Regions from separate parts of the Homo sapiens genome. Here region 2 is linked to region 1. The links are contacts of gene promoters, found by promoter capture Hi-C in blood cells and fetal thymus (Javierre and others, 2016). All regions are on one chromosome and are shown on one strand. The core of a region is centred on a gene start or on the middle of the fragment in contact, and the rest is flanking DNA. Distances in the headings are between cores, read along the strand shown.

What was found. Contacts are between HindIII fragments. The CHiCAGO score rates a contact against its expected background, and 5 or more counts as called.
Region 2: a contact is called between a fragment that was not itself captured here and the fragment with the promoter of TMEM78 in region 1, in 9 of 17 cell types (M2 macrophages, total CD4 T cells, total CD8 T cells and 6 more). The highest score is 9.7, in M2 macrophages.

Annotation. Positions count from the first base shown.
Region 1 is chr1:229,245,189-229,251,432 of GRCh38, reverse strand. It overlaps TMEM78 (transmembrane protein 78), which reads right to left and starts at 1,797. Exons shown (of 1, transcript NR_172940.1): 1 at 1-1,797. All of the region lies in intron 1 of LOC102723935 (a long non-coding RNA gene), which reads left to right. The HindIII fragment of the contact is 6,724 bases long and covers 1-4,223 here.
Region 2 is chr1:228,711,126-228,717,662 of GRCh38, reverse strand. It overlaps a transcript of RHOU not described here. Among named protein-coding and RNA genes, the nearest start is that of RHOU, 21 kb to the left of the region's middle. The HindIII fragment of the contact is 4,938 bases long and covers 2,276-6,537 here.

The DNA.
Region 1 (6,244 bases), core at 548-3,047:
CAGCCCACAGTGAAGCAGGCCTCACTCTGTACCACCATAGAACTCGGCTCAGTTTCTGACTCTGTATTTTTCTCTTGCTCCCCGTGCCCCTGGTGCTGGAGCGCTTAATTAGATCTAACAAGGTCTCTTTTGTCCTTGTGCTTTGGAGTGTCTTCAGGCTTTCCCTGGATAATGATAGCCAAAAGTATTCAGAGTTTTAGAAAACCTAAAACCTAAAACCTTCAAAAGGGCAATGTTGAGAAATAAAGAAATGAATTATTCCATTGTTAAGCAACTCATGTCTGAGTAAGAGAAAACTTGAATTTATGGTGGTTAAAGTATATGTGAGATATTAAAAACAAAAGAGAGAGAGAAAGAAAAAAAACCCAGAAAGCCATTTTTTGATCCTCAAGAGATCAGATGAAGTTTCTATGTGAAGCATTGAGAGATCTTTATTTTATGATAAGGCTAAATGCCAGATTGTCAAAAAAAGGGTCAAATATAAACTTCTTTGCATAATACGTAAATCCATTAATAATCTGACCCTTTCTTTTCCAATCTCCTCTACTAGCAACCTCCAGTATATTCTGGTTACCCTGCTCCAAAAATGCTCTAAACATGCCATGCCTGTGTACTACTTCCCCATGGTTTATTCTCCCTCTCCATTTCTGGCCAACTCCTACTCATCCTTTAAAACTCAGCTTGAATGTCATCTCCTCTACAAAGCAGGTGGTTGTAGTCACCTCTATTAGTGTTCCCATCTTTTGTATATACTTCCTATGATTCTGATCACATTCTGCTTAATATCTTATCACATCCTGTCATGTATATGCTCATCTCCTCTAGCAGTCAGTTTTTTAAGGGCAGTAAACCTGGGTGCTTTTTTGTTTTTTGCAGTCCCAGTCCCAGCAGTGCTGAGCAACAGAAGAGATAAACACCACAGTTTTTAGGAAGTTCAGTTGCATAAGAGATGACAGTAGAGGCCCCTGCATGTCTATTGCAGACAATTACTTACGGGCTCACAAAAGAATATTCTCTGGTTTTGCCCAGTGGGATGCACTGTCCTACAAAGGCTGAAGATTTTGGGGAGGCAACAGACACACCAAACAGACTTCCTTTTCTATATCTTTCAGTTGCTGACACTATTAAGAAATAGAGACTGGGCATGGTGGCTCACACGTGTAATCCCAACACTTTGGGAGGCCGAGGTGGAGGATTGCTTATGACCAGGAGTTTGAGACCAGCTGGGCAACATAGTGAGACCCCATCTCTACCACATACACACACACACACACACACACACGCAAATTAGCTGGGCGTGGTGGCAAGCCCCTGTAGTCCCAGCTACTCAGGAGGCTGAGGTGGGAGGATCACTTGAGCCTGGGATGTTGAGGCTGCAGTGAATCATGATTGCACCATCGCATTCTAGCCTGGGAGACAGAGCAAGACCTTGTCTCAGGAAGGAAGGAAGGAAGGAAGGGGAGAGAGAGAGAGAAAGAAAGAAAGAAGGAAAGAAAGGAAGAAAGAGAGAAAGAGAGAGAGGAAGGAAGGAAAGAAAGAAAGAAAAGGAAGTAGAGAAAGAAAGGAAGGCAGGCAGGCAGGCAGGAAGGAGGAATTCCCTTCTGATTTGGTAGGAATTAGAAGATTCCTCTACTCTATCATTGTCATTGTAAAACATCTCTAGAGTAGTTGTTTGAGGCACACAAACTCCTTTCCAACATGATATTACAATACCCAGATTTCTGGTGTCAAGCCACATGTCAGTATGAACGGTCCTGCACAGATGACGTGTTCAACTTTCATGGTTGTCTCTACCTTCCATTCCAGCCTGCTCCGCCTCCTGGATTTTCCAGAAACCTCTGGCTTCTCCCTTCTTCCTCAGGGGTGTGTGGCTCTCTGGTGGGGAATTATCAACCAACATAGTGGGAGATGCTGAAGCCCGAGCGATGAGCAAAGTGAACACAGAGCACTGGGAAGCTGAGGTGCAGATGCACGAAGGGAAGAAGCTGGGAAGAAGCTGGAGGAAAGGAGTGAAGGAAATAGGATGATGGAGCCAAAACTGGGACTAGGGAGGCCAGACCTGGGAAAGAAGGTGGGAGCTGAAGTGGGGATCCTGAGGATGTTAACTGAAAAACCACGAGATCTATAAGCAACTCTTTAACCGAAAGGAGAGACTCTGCTGGTAGAAGTTTACCTGTTGGGGGTGACTCAGGCAGAGCTAAGCTAGCCCTGCAATGACTCCAAATGATCCTGCAAGGTGGGGGCAGACACAGGAGAGGAAAACAGCCCCATCCTGGCCTGCTGGTCAAAGCACACACGTGTGCTCTCTTCTCTCCCTCCCTCTCTGCTCTGTCTCTCTCTCTCCCTCCTTTTCTCTCTGTTTCTGTCTTTCTCTCTCTGTACCTTGGCAGCTAACCTGGCATTCTGAACTCCACCCCCAACCCTGTCGGTGCCTCTTTTGACCCTGAGTAGCTCTTTTCTCTCTTTCCCTACTTCCTACTTCTTACCACTGCCTGGAGAGGTTATTCTTAGCCACTTGCTGAACAGTTACTTGTTTCATTTAAACAAACAAAAAAGAAACAAAACCTGCCTAATGTGGCAGTAGACTTGAATTTAAAGAAAATGTATTTCAAACTGGGAAGAAGAGAAAAATTTTTTCTTAAATGCAACTTATTTTCATTGATTCTGAAAGCAATACATATTTATTGTAGAGAGAAATTGGATTGTACAGAGAAGCACAAAGAATAAAATTATAGTTATCCATTATTCCATGGTCAGAGATAACTGGAATTAACATAAGGATATTGCTTTGGCTTGAATGTTTGTGTCTTTTCCAAAATTCATGCTGAGGCCGGGCGCGGTGGCTCACCCCTGTAATCCCAGCACTTTGTGAGGCTGAGGCAGGTGGATTGCCTGAGCTCAGGAGTTCTAGACCAGCCTGGCCAACATGGTGAAACCCCAACTCTACTAAAAATACAAAAAATTAGCCAGGCGTGGCGGTGCATGCCTGTAATCCCAGCTACTCAGGAGGCTGAGGCACAAGAATCGTTTGAACCTGGGAGGCGGAGGTTGCAGTGAGCTGAGATTGCACCACTGCACTCCAGCCTGGGTGACAGAACGAGACTCTGTCACAAACAAACAAACAAAACCAAAATTCGAGTTGAAAGATAATCCCCAATGTAACAGTATTAAGAAAGAGGTGAGGTCTTTAGGAGGTGATTAGACCGTGAGGACTCTGCTCGCATGATTGGATTAATGCCTCATAAAAGGACTTGAGGGAGCCAGTTCAGCCCCTTCTTCTCTTCCACCAAGTGAAGACTCAGGGTTTGTCTTCTCCCTCAGCAACAGGGTGCCATCACAGAAGCAGAGAGCAGCCCTCAGCAGACATCAGACATGCTGGTGCCTTGATCTTGGGCTTCCCAGTCTCCACAACTGTGACAAATACACTTCTATTGTTGATAAATTACCCAGTCTGTGATATTTTGTTACAGCAGCACAGACTAAAACAGAAATATATGCTTTTTAGCCTTCTACACACACACACACACACACACACACACACACATTATTGGGATATAGTGTATGTATTGTTTCATAATCTACTTCTTTCACATGAACACTTTATGGTGAATGTTTTTCCATGCTAATATTTTTTCCATAAAGATATTTTAAATCATGACATAGTATTCTATTTGAACATATCAAAACATTTAATCTACTATTATTGGACATTTAAGATATTTCAAAAAAAATTTTCTTTTTGCTACTAGCAATAGATTTGTCTTTTTTTTTTTTTTTCTTGAGACAGGGTCTCACTCTGTCACCCAGGCTGGAGTGCAGTGGTGTGATTTTGGCTCACTGCAACCTCCACTTCTGGGGTTCAAGTGATCCTCCCCCCTCAGCCTCCTGAGTAGCAGGGACTACAGGCACACACCGCCACACTCAACTAAGTTTTGTATTATTATTATTTTAGTAGAGACGGGGTTTCACCATGTTGCCCAGGCTGGTCTCAAACTACTGGGCTCAAGCAATCCACCCACCTCAGCCTTCCAAAGTGCTGGGATTACAGGCACGAGCCACCATGCCCGACCACTAGGTTTGTCTTGAACAATCTGGTACTGAAATCTTTACCCACATCCATGGCTATTTTCTTAGCATAAATGTCTAGACATAGAATAGCTGGATTAGAGGGATGTGCATCTTAAATTCCTGGTACATAGAGCCAAATTAGCCTTCAGAAAGCTTATGCTAATTTTCCTGTCAGCAATGCTGTTTCTCCAAACTCTAGATAACCCTGGCTAGTATCAGTTTTTTTTTCTGTTATTAATTTTCTTTGGTTTTGAGACAGAGTCTTGCTCTGTTGCCCATGCTGGAGTGCAATGGCACGTTCTCAGCTCACTGTAACCTCTGCCTCTTGGGTTCAAGTGATTCTCATGCCTCAGCCTCCTGAATAGCTGGGATTACTAAAAAAAGTACAAAAATTAGCCAGGCACATCTCTACTAAAAAAAAAAAAATACAAAAATTAGCCAGGCATGTACCATCATGGCTGGCTAATTTCTCTATTTTTTTAGGAGAGGCAGGGTTTTGCCATGTCAAACTCTTGGCCTCATGCAATCCACCCGCCTCAGCCTCCCAAAGCGCTGAGATTACAGGAGTGAACCACCACGTCTGGCCTATTAATTTTTAATGTAATTCTATTGAGATCAGAAAATATACTTTGTATGAATTTAATCATTTTAAATTTATTGAGATCTAGTTTACAGGCCAGAATGTAGTCTGTTTTGGTGAATGTCCCATGAGCACCTGAAAAGAATTTGCATTTTGCCATTGTTGGATGAAGTGTTCTATATATGTCAATTAGGTTAAGTTGGTTGCTAATGTTATTGAAATCTTCTATATCCTTTCTGATTTTCTGTGTACTTATTCCATCAATTAATAAGAGAGAGATGTTGGAATCTCCCATTATAATTTTGAATTTGTCTATTTTCTCTTTCTACTAGTTTTTCCTTCCTGTGTTTTAATGCTCTGTTATAAGGGGCACACACATTTAATCTTGCTATGTCTTCTTGAAGAATTGACCTGCTCGTCATAATAGGATGTTCATCTTTATCCCTGGTAATATTCTCTGTCCTGAATACTACTCTGTCTGCTATAAATACAGCCTCTTTAGCTTTTTTCAATTAGTGTGTGTATGGCATATCTTTTCCCAGCCTTTCACTTTTAAACTATTTATGTCTTTATATTTAAAGTGGGTTTCTTATAGACAGCATAGACTGAGTCTTGCTTTTTTGTTTTTTGACGCTAACCTGACAATTCTGCTTTTTACTTTAATTTTTAATTTTTTTTTTTTGACAGAGTCTCACTCTGTCACACAGGCTGAAGTGCAGTGGTGTGGTAATAGCTCACTGCAGCCTCAAACTCCTGGGCTCAGTGGCTCCTCCTGCCTTAGCCTCCTGAGTATTTGGGACTACAGGTACGTGCCTCTGTGCCAACCTAATTGTTGCTTTTTAATTGGAATGTTTAGACCATTTATTTGATGTAATTCTTGATACAACTGGGTTCCATCTACTATCCTGCATTTGTACCCCAACCCCATGTTTGTCCCATCTTCTTTCTTTTCTCGTGCCTTCTTTTGGAATAATTGAGTATTTTTTCTAATTATACTTTATCTCAGCTCTTAGCTTATTAGCTATGCCTCTTTGTTCTATTTCTATTTTTTACTGGTTACTCTAGGGTCTACATATACATCTTTAACTTACCCCAGTCTTTCTTCCTGTATAGCGTAAGAACTGTGCAGGGGTACACCTCCATTTCTGCTTTCCTTCTTTGTGCTGTTGTTGTCATATGTCTACATGCATCATAAATCCCACAATACATTGATTTTTTATTTTATTTTTTTGAGATGGAGTCTTACTCTGTTGCACAGGCTGGAGTACAGTGGTACAATCTCAGCTCACTGCAACCTCTGCCTCCCGGGTTCAATCAATTTTCCTGCCTCAGCCTCCTCATTAGCTGAGATTACAGGCATGCGCCACCACGCCAGGCTAATTTTTGTATTTTTAGTAGAGAGGGGGTTTCACCATGTTGGCCAGGCTGGTCTCGAATTCCTGACCTCAGGTGATCCACCCGCCTTGGCCTCCCAAAGTGTTGGCATTACAGGCATGAGCCACCGCACTCAGCCCCCACAATACATTTAGACCAGAGGTTGGCAAACTTTCTGAGCTAGATAGTAAATATTTTTCACTCTATACAGTCTCTATTGCA
Region 2 (6,537 bases), core at 3,495-5,994, 540 kb after region 1:
CAAGATGTCAGAGAGCATGCCTCCGGCATAACTCAGTAACAGTATTTCACCTTGGCATTGATGTTTTGTAATGATGAGGTAAGTTGGAGTGGTAAGTGATAAATATGGCTTTCTCCTCCCCATCCTACCTATCCCTCTCCAGAGTAGAACTAAACATATTCTAAGGAGGTGTGTGTAGATCACAAATTACTTAGATATTCTCCCTAACATCTGAGAATGTTTACACTAAAGTGATACTAACATACCACAGGGCCCAAGAGGATGAGAGGTCATTTCAGTTCTAGAGAATCTGTTGCTTATGAATAGTTTGTGTTATAAGACTTTCTGGCTTTATCCTTGTAAAATGCTTTGTACTTCTTGGTAGCCAGGAGATTGATGCATGATGTTATTACAGAAGCAAACAGAGCAGTTCCAGGCATCCATTCAAAGTAGATATATCAAATAGGCATTTTGGACAGTTTGAAAGATCTCAAATTCTTTGTTCTTCCAAAAATCCTCCCAGTGAAAGGAAATGCTTTTGTTTCAGTGGCCCGAAAAGACTAACTCTTGACTTCAGTTCCTTCCAGCCCTGTCATCTGCACTGATAGCAAGGCCTCACCACAGCCTTCCTAATGGACAGCAGCCAGTGTCATTTCAGGATGCCCACAAGAGTGCCACCTGGTTCCAAACTTTCTAATCCCTGGAGAGGAAAATAAAAATGAACTCTCTTTGTCAAAGGTGAAAATGAGAACTGGAATTTTTCCTGAATAGGAAATGAAGTGCTCTCTATTTCTTAGTGACAGTTCGTCATGATGGATTTCAGACTGTGCCTGGGTGAGAAAAAATTCATAGTCAAACTGAAAAAAACATATTTTTTGATGCGTGATTGTGACCAGTTTCCAATAATCTGGAATATACATACATATACACACACATGTGTGTGTATATGTATATATACACACACACATAACATACATAAAATAAAATAATAAATACAGACAGATGTAGATTCATTTAATATATACTTACTGAATGTCAACTATGTTGTGACCACTGTAATAAGTGCTGGGATTTGAACAGTACACAAAACAAACACCATCCATTTTCTCATGAAGCTTATAGGTGATAAGCAGACGATATTAAACTATAATGTGTGTAAAATGTTAGGAAAGGACAATAAATGGTGATGGTGAGCTGCCTGAGGGAAGTCCCTTGCTTTATTTTCACAACTTCTTCCTCAGTACTTGGAATCATGCCTGGCACATCATAGGAACTTAACATATATAGAATGATTTAATGAGTGTATATATTAATTATGAGAAAGATAAGACAGAGACAACTTGAGTTGTGGGATGCCACAGTGGACCCCAGTGGGAAAGATAAGCAGGAATTATCCACAGGAAGGGGGCAAGGTGTGGGGAAGCATTCCAGAGAGAAAGTAAAGCGGGCTTTTTTAAAACAATGTCCACCTGGAGTGGTGGCTGACGCCTGTAATCCCAACACTTTGGAAGACCAATGCAGGAGGATCGCTTGAGCCTAGGAGTTCAAGACCACCCTGGGCAACAAAGCAAGGCCCCTATATTTACAAAAAAGATTTTTGTTAATGAGCTGAGTGTGGTGGTGCACACCTGTAGTCCCAGCTACTTGGGAGTCTGCTGTGGGAAGATTGCTTGAGCCTAAGATGTTGACTGCAGTGAATCATGATCATGCCACTGCACTCCAGGCTGAGTGACAGAGTGAGACCTTGTCTCAAAAAAAAAAAAAAAAAGTTCATACTTTTTAAAACTAAAAGTCACAAATCACAATGAAGCTATTTCTATCATGAATCACATCAAATAATGCAAAAAAAAATCCACCACAATTATAAAATAATAATCACAAGAGATGCCAAGAAACAGATAAAAACACATTACTAATGGGAGATTAGTAATTCCCCCTGGGAATAAGACAGAGCTAGTGAACTAAAATGAAGATATAGAACTAAAATGAAGATATAGAAGAACTAAACACTATAATCAATACGGTACATCTTAAGAATGTATATGAAAGTTTTCAGCCTGACAATAGAAAATACAATTTCTTCTCAAGGTACAAGGATCATTCCCAAAATTGATTATATGTCAGGTCATAAAGAAAATATCAGTAAGTTCCATAAAGTATAAATATTACCGAATATTCTACCAATATTACCAAATATTCCATCAAAACAAATTTTTGTTCACAGTGTAATAAAACTAGAAATTATTGACAACAAAAGCAGCAAAAAAAGCCCATTTCACCTAGAAATGTAAAAGCTTTCTCTAAGGACTCTTGGATGAAAAGAGAAAGATAAAATGAAATTATAAAATTTCTAAAACATATTGATAATTAAAACACAGTGTATCAGAATATATGAGATATTTGAAATATGATTATTTAAAGCAGTAACCATAGGGAAATTCATAGCCTTAATCACATTTACCAATAAAAATCAAAGATTTTAAATAAATGAATTAAATTCCCAGCTCAGAAAGCCAGAAAAAAAAAGAAAGAAAACACAACAAAAGAAAAATTGAAGCTAAAAGAAATTAGTGTGACAGGAAAAAAAAAATAGATCTAGTTAGATCTATTTCAAATCAAATTCCTGGTGTTTAAAGTTAATTGGCCAGGCGCGGTGGCTCACGCCTGTAATCCCAGCACTTTGGGAGGCTGAGGCAGGCAGATCACGAAGTCAGGAGTTTGAGACCAGCTTGGCCAACATAGTGAAATCCCGTCTCTTCTAAAAATACAAAAATTAGCCAGGTGTGGTGGCATGTGCCTGTAGTCTCAGCTACTCAGGAGGCTGAGGCAGAAGAATCGCTTGAACCCGGGAGGCGGAGGTTGCAGTGAGCTGAGACCACGCCATTGCACTCCAGCCTGGGTGACAGAGTGAGACTCCATCTCAAAAAAAAAAAAAAAAAAAAAGATAATTAACAAAATAAACAAGCCATTAGCTAACTTAAGAAAAAAAAGAAGAAGGAATTCAAAAATACAAAATAAGAAATAAGGAGAAATAACTATTGAAACAAGAGAAAATAAATCACAAGAGGCTATTTTGAAAACTGTGCAAATAAATTTGAAAAATTAGGTGAAATGGATAACGTCCTGAGGAAATACAGTTAGCCAAAATTGACTTGTTGAAATTTACATAGCTTAAACAGATTAGTATCTATAGAATATGTGGAGGAAGTTATCAAGGAACTATCCTCCAAAATGCACGAGACCTAGATCATTTCAGAGAGAAATTCTACCAAAACTTCAAAGATAAGGTAATCTCTACATTGTTCCGGAGCAAATGAAGGATATTTTCCTAATTATTTTTGTGAAGCAAGTATAATATTGATTCCTGAACTTGTTACAGAGCAGAAAAAAATAAAATTACAAACCAATATTATGTATGAAAATTGATGCAAAATTTTAAAATAAACTGTTTATAAACAGAATTCAACACCGCATTAAGAAAATAATACACCATGGCCAAGTGGCAATTATTCCAGCAATTCAAAGTTGATTTGCTGAAAACCCAGCAAATTAGGAATATTAGGAAACCCATTAATGCAATTAATACACCATATTAGTAGATTTGAGGAGAAAAATCATGTAATTGTCTCCATAGAGGCTATAAAACCTTTTATAATATTTAACATCTTCTGAGAGTACAAAAAACTCAAACTGGTCTTCCTCCACTCTCATACTACAATCAACACAGAAGACTTCCATGACCAAATGTGTGGGGATTTCTCCACACAGCAAGCAAGCAATCAAATCTACAGCAGACACAAGCTGAGTATGCTTCAATTCAGTTCTAACAGCATCCACCTGGAGATAGGGTCAGATCCCACAGTTGGGTCAGTTCTATAAGACTGCTCCCACTTCCAATGCCAGTAGCAAGCCCCAGGTTGTTTTGCCCATGCTTCTAACTGACTGACTATAAAACAGGCATCGTATGACCTCTCCTTGGGTTTGATTAATTTGCTAGAGTGGCTCATAGAACTTACTTATGTTTTTCCAGTTTATTATAAAGAATATTACAGGCTGGGCGTGGTGGCTCACACCTGTAAATCCCAGCACTTTGGGAGGCCGAGGTGGGAGGATTGCTTGAGGCCAACAGTTTGAGATCAGCCTAGACAACATAGTGAGAACCCCTATCTCTACAAAAAGTAGAAATAAAAAAATTAGCCGAGTGTGTTGGTGCATGCCAAAAACAAAAAAAGGATAGTACAAAGAATTACAGAATGGCAAGGGGAGCAGAGCTTCCATGCCTTCCCTGGGCACTGAAACCGCCACATATTCAGCTATCCACAAGATATCTGAACCCAGTCCCTTTGGAGTTTTATGGAGGCTTTATTACATAGGCATGATTGATTAAACCACTGGCCACTGGTGATCAACTCAACCTTCAGCATCTCCCCTCCCTGGAGATTGGGCAGTGGGGCTGAAAATCCCAACTCTCTAATCCTGCATTGGTCTTTTTGGTGACCAGCCCCCACCTGAAGCTACCTAGGAGTTGCCTGCCATCAGTCAACCCAATAGCATAAAAAAGACACATCACTTTGGAAATTCCAAGAATTTTAGAAGTTGTATGCCAGGAAATGGGTCAAACACCAAATATGTACCTTAAAATATCACAACATTCATCATCCATTCCTGGTTAAAAAAAAAAGGAAGAAAAAAGAAATTAATCGATACCTTTATATATATATAGTCAGACTCAGATATCCGACTAGGTCAGGCAGACCCTGGCAGTATATGGCAACATTGCAGGAGATGCAAACTCCAGCTTTGGGTATTTTATTTTATTTTATTTTATTTTATTTTATTTTATTTTATTTTATTTATTTATTTATTTATTATTATTATACTTTAAGTTTTAGGGTACATGTGCACAATGTGCAGGTTAGTTACATATGTATGCATGTGCCATGGTGGTGCGCTGCACCCACTAACTCGTCATCTAGCATTAGGTATATCTCCCAATGCTATCCCTCCCCCCTCCCCCCACCCTACAACAGTCCCCAGAGTGTGATGTTCCCCTTCCTGTGTCCATGTGTTCTCATTGTTCAACTCCCACCCATGAGTGAGAATATGCGGTTTTTGGTTTTTTGTTCTTGCGATAGTTTACTGAGAATGATGATTTCCAATTTCATGCATGTCCCTACAAAGGACATGAACTCATCATTTTGTATGGCTGAATAGTATTCCATGGTGTATATGTGCCACATTTTCTTAATCCAGTCTATCATTGTTGGACGTGTGGGTTGGTTCCAAGTCTTTGCTATTGTGAATAATGCCGCAATAAACATACATGTGCATGTGTCTTTATAGCAGCATGATTTATAGTCCTTTGGGTATATACCCAGTAATGGGATGGCTGGGTCAAATGGTATTTCTAGTTCTAGATCCCTGAGGAATCGCCACACTGACTTCCACAATGGTTGAACTAGTTTACAGTCCCACCAACAGTGTAAAAGTGTTCCTATTTCTCCATATCCTCTCCAGCACCTGTTATTTCCTGACTTTTTAATGATTGCCATTCTAACTGGTGTGAAATGGTATCTCATTGTGGTTTTGATTTGCATTTCTCTGATGGCCAGTGATGGTGAGCATTTTTTCATGTGTTTTTTGGCTGCATAAATGTCTTCTTTTGAGAAGTGTCTGTTCATGTCCTTTGCCCACTTTTTGATGGGGTTGTTTGTTTTTTTCTTGTAAATTTGTTTGAGTTCATTGTAGATTCTGGATATTAGCCCTTTGTCAGATGAGTAGGTTGTGAAAATTTTCTCCCATTTTGTAGGTTGCCTGTTCACTCTGATGGTAGTTTCTTTTGCTGTGCAGAAGCTCTTTAGTTTAATTAGATCCCATTTGTCAATTTTGGCTTTTGTTGCCATTGCTTTTGGTGTTTTAGACATGAAGTCCTTGCCCATGCCTATGTCCTGAATGGTAATGCCTAGGTTTTCTTCTAGGGTTTTTATGGTTTTAGGTCTAACGTTTAAGTCTTTAACCCATCTTGAATTAATTTTTGTATAAGGTGTAAGGAAAGGATCCAGTTTCAGCTTTCTACATATGGCTAGCCAGTTTTCCCAGCACCATTTATTAAATAGGGAATCCTTTCCCCATTGCTTGTTTTTGTCAGGTTTGTCACAGATCAGATAGTTGTAGATATGCGGCGTTATTTCTGAGGGCTCTGTTCTGTTCCATTGATCTATATCTCTGTTTTGGTACCAGTACCATGCTTTTTTGGTTATTGTAGCCTTGTAGTATAGTTTGAAGTCAAGTAGTGTGACGCCTCCAGCTTTGTTCTTTTGGCTTAGGATTGACTTGGCGATGCGGGCTCTTTTTTGGTTCCATATGAACTTTAAAGTAGTTTTTTCCAATTCTGTGAAGAAAGTCATTGGTAGCTTGATGGGGATGGCACTGAATCTGTAAATTACCTTGGGCAGTATGGCCATTTTCACGATATTGATTCTTCCTACCCATGAGCATGGAATGTTCTTCCATTTGTTTGTATCCTCTTTTATTTCCTTGAGCAGTGGTTTTTAGTTC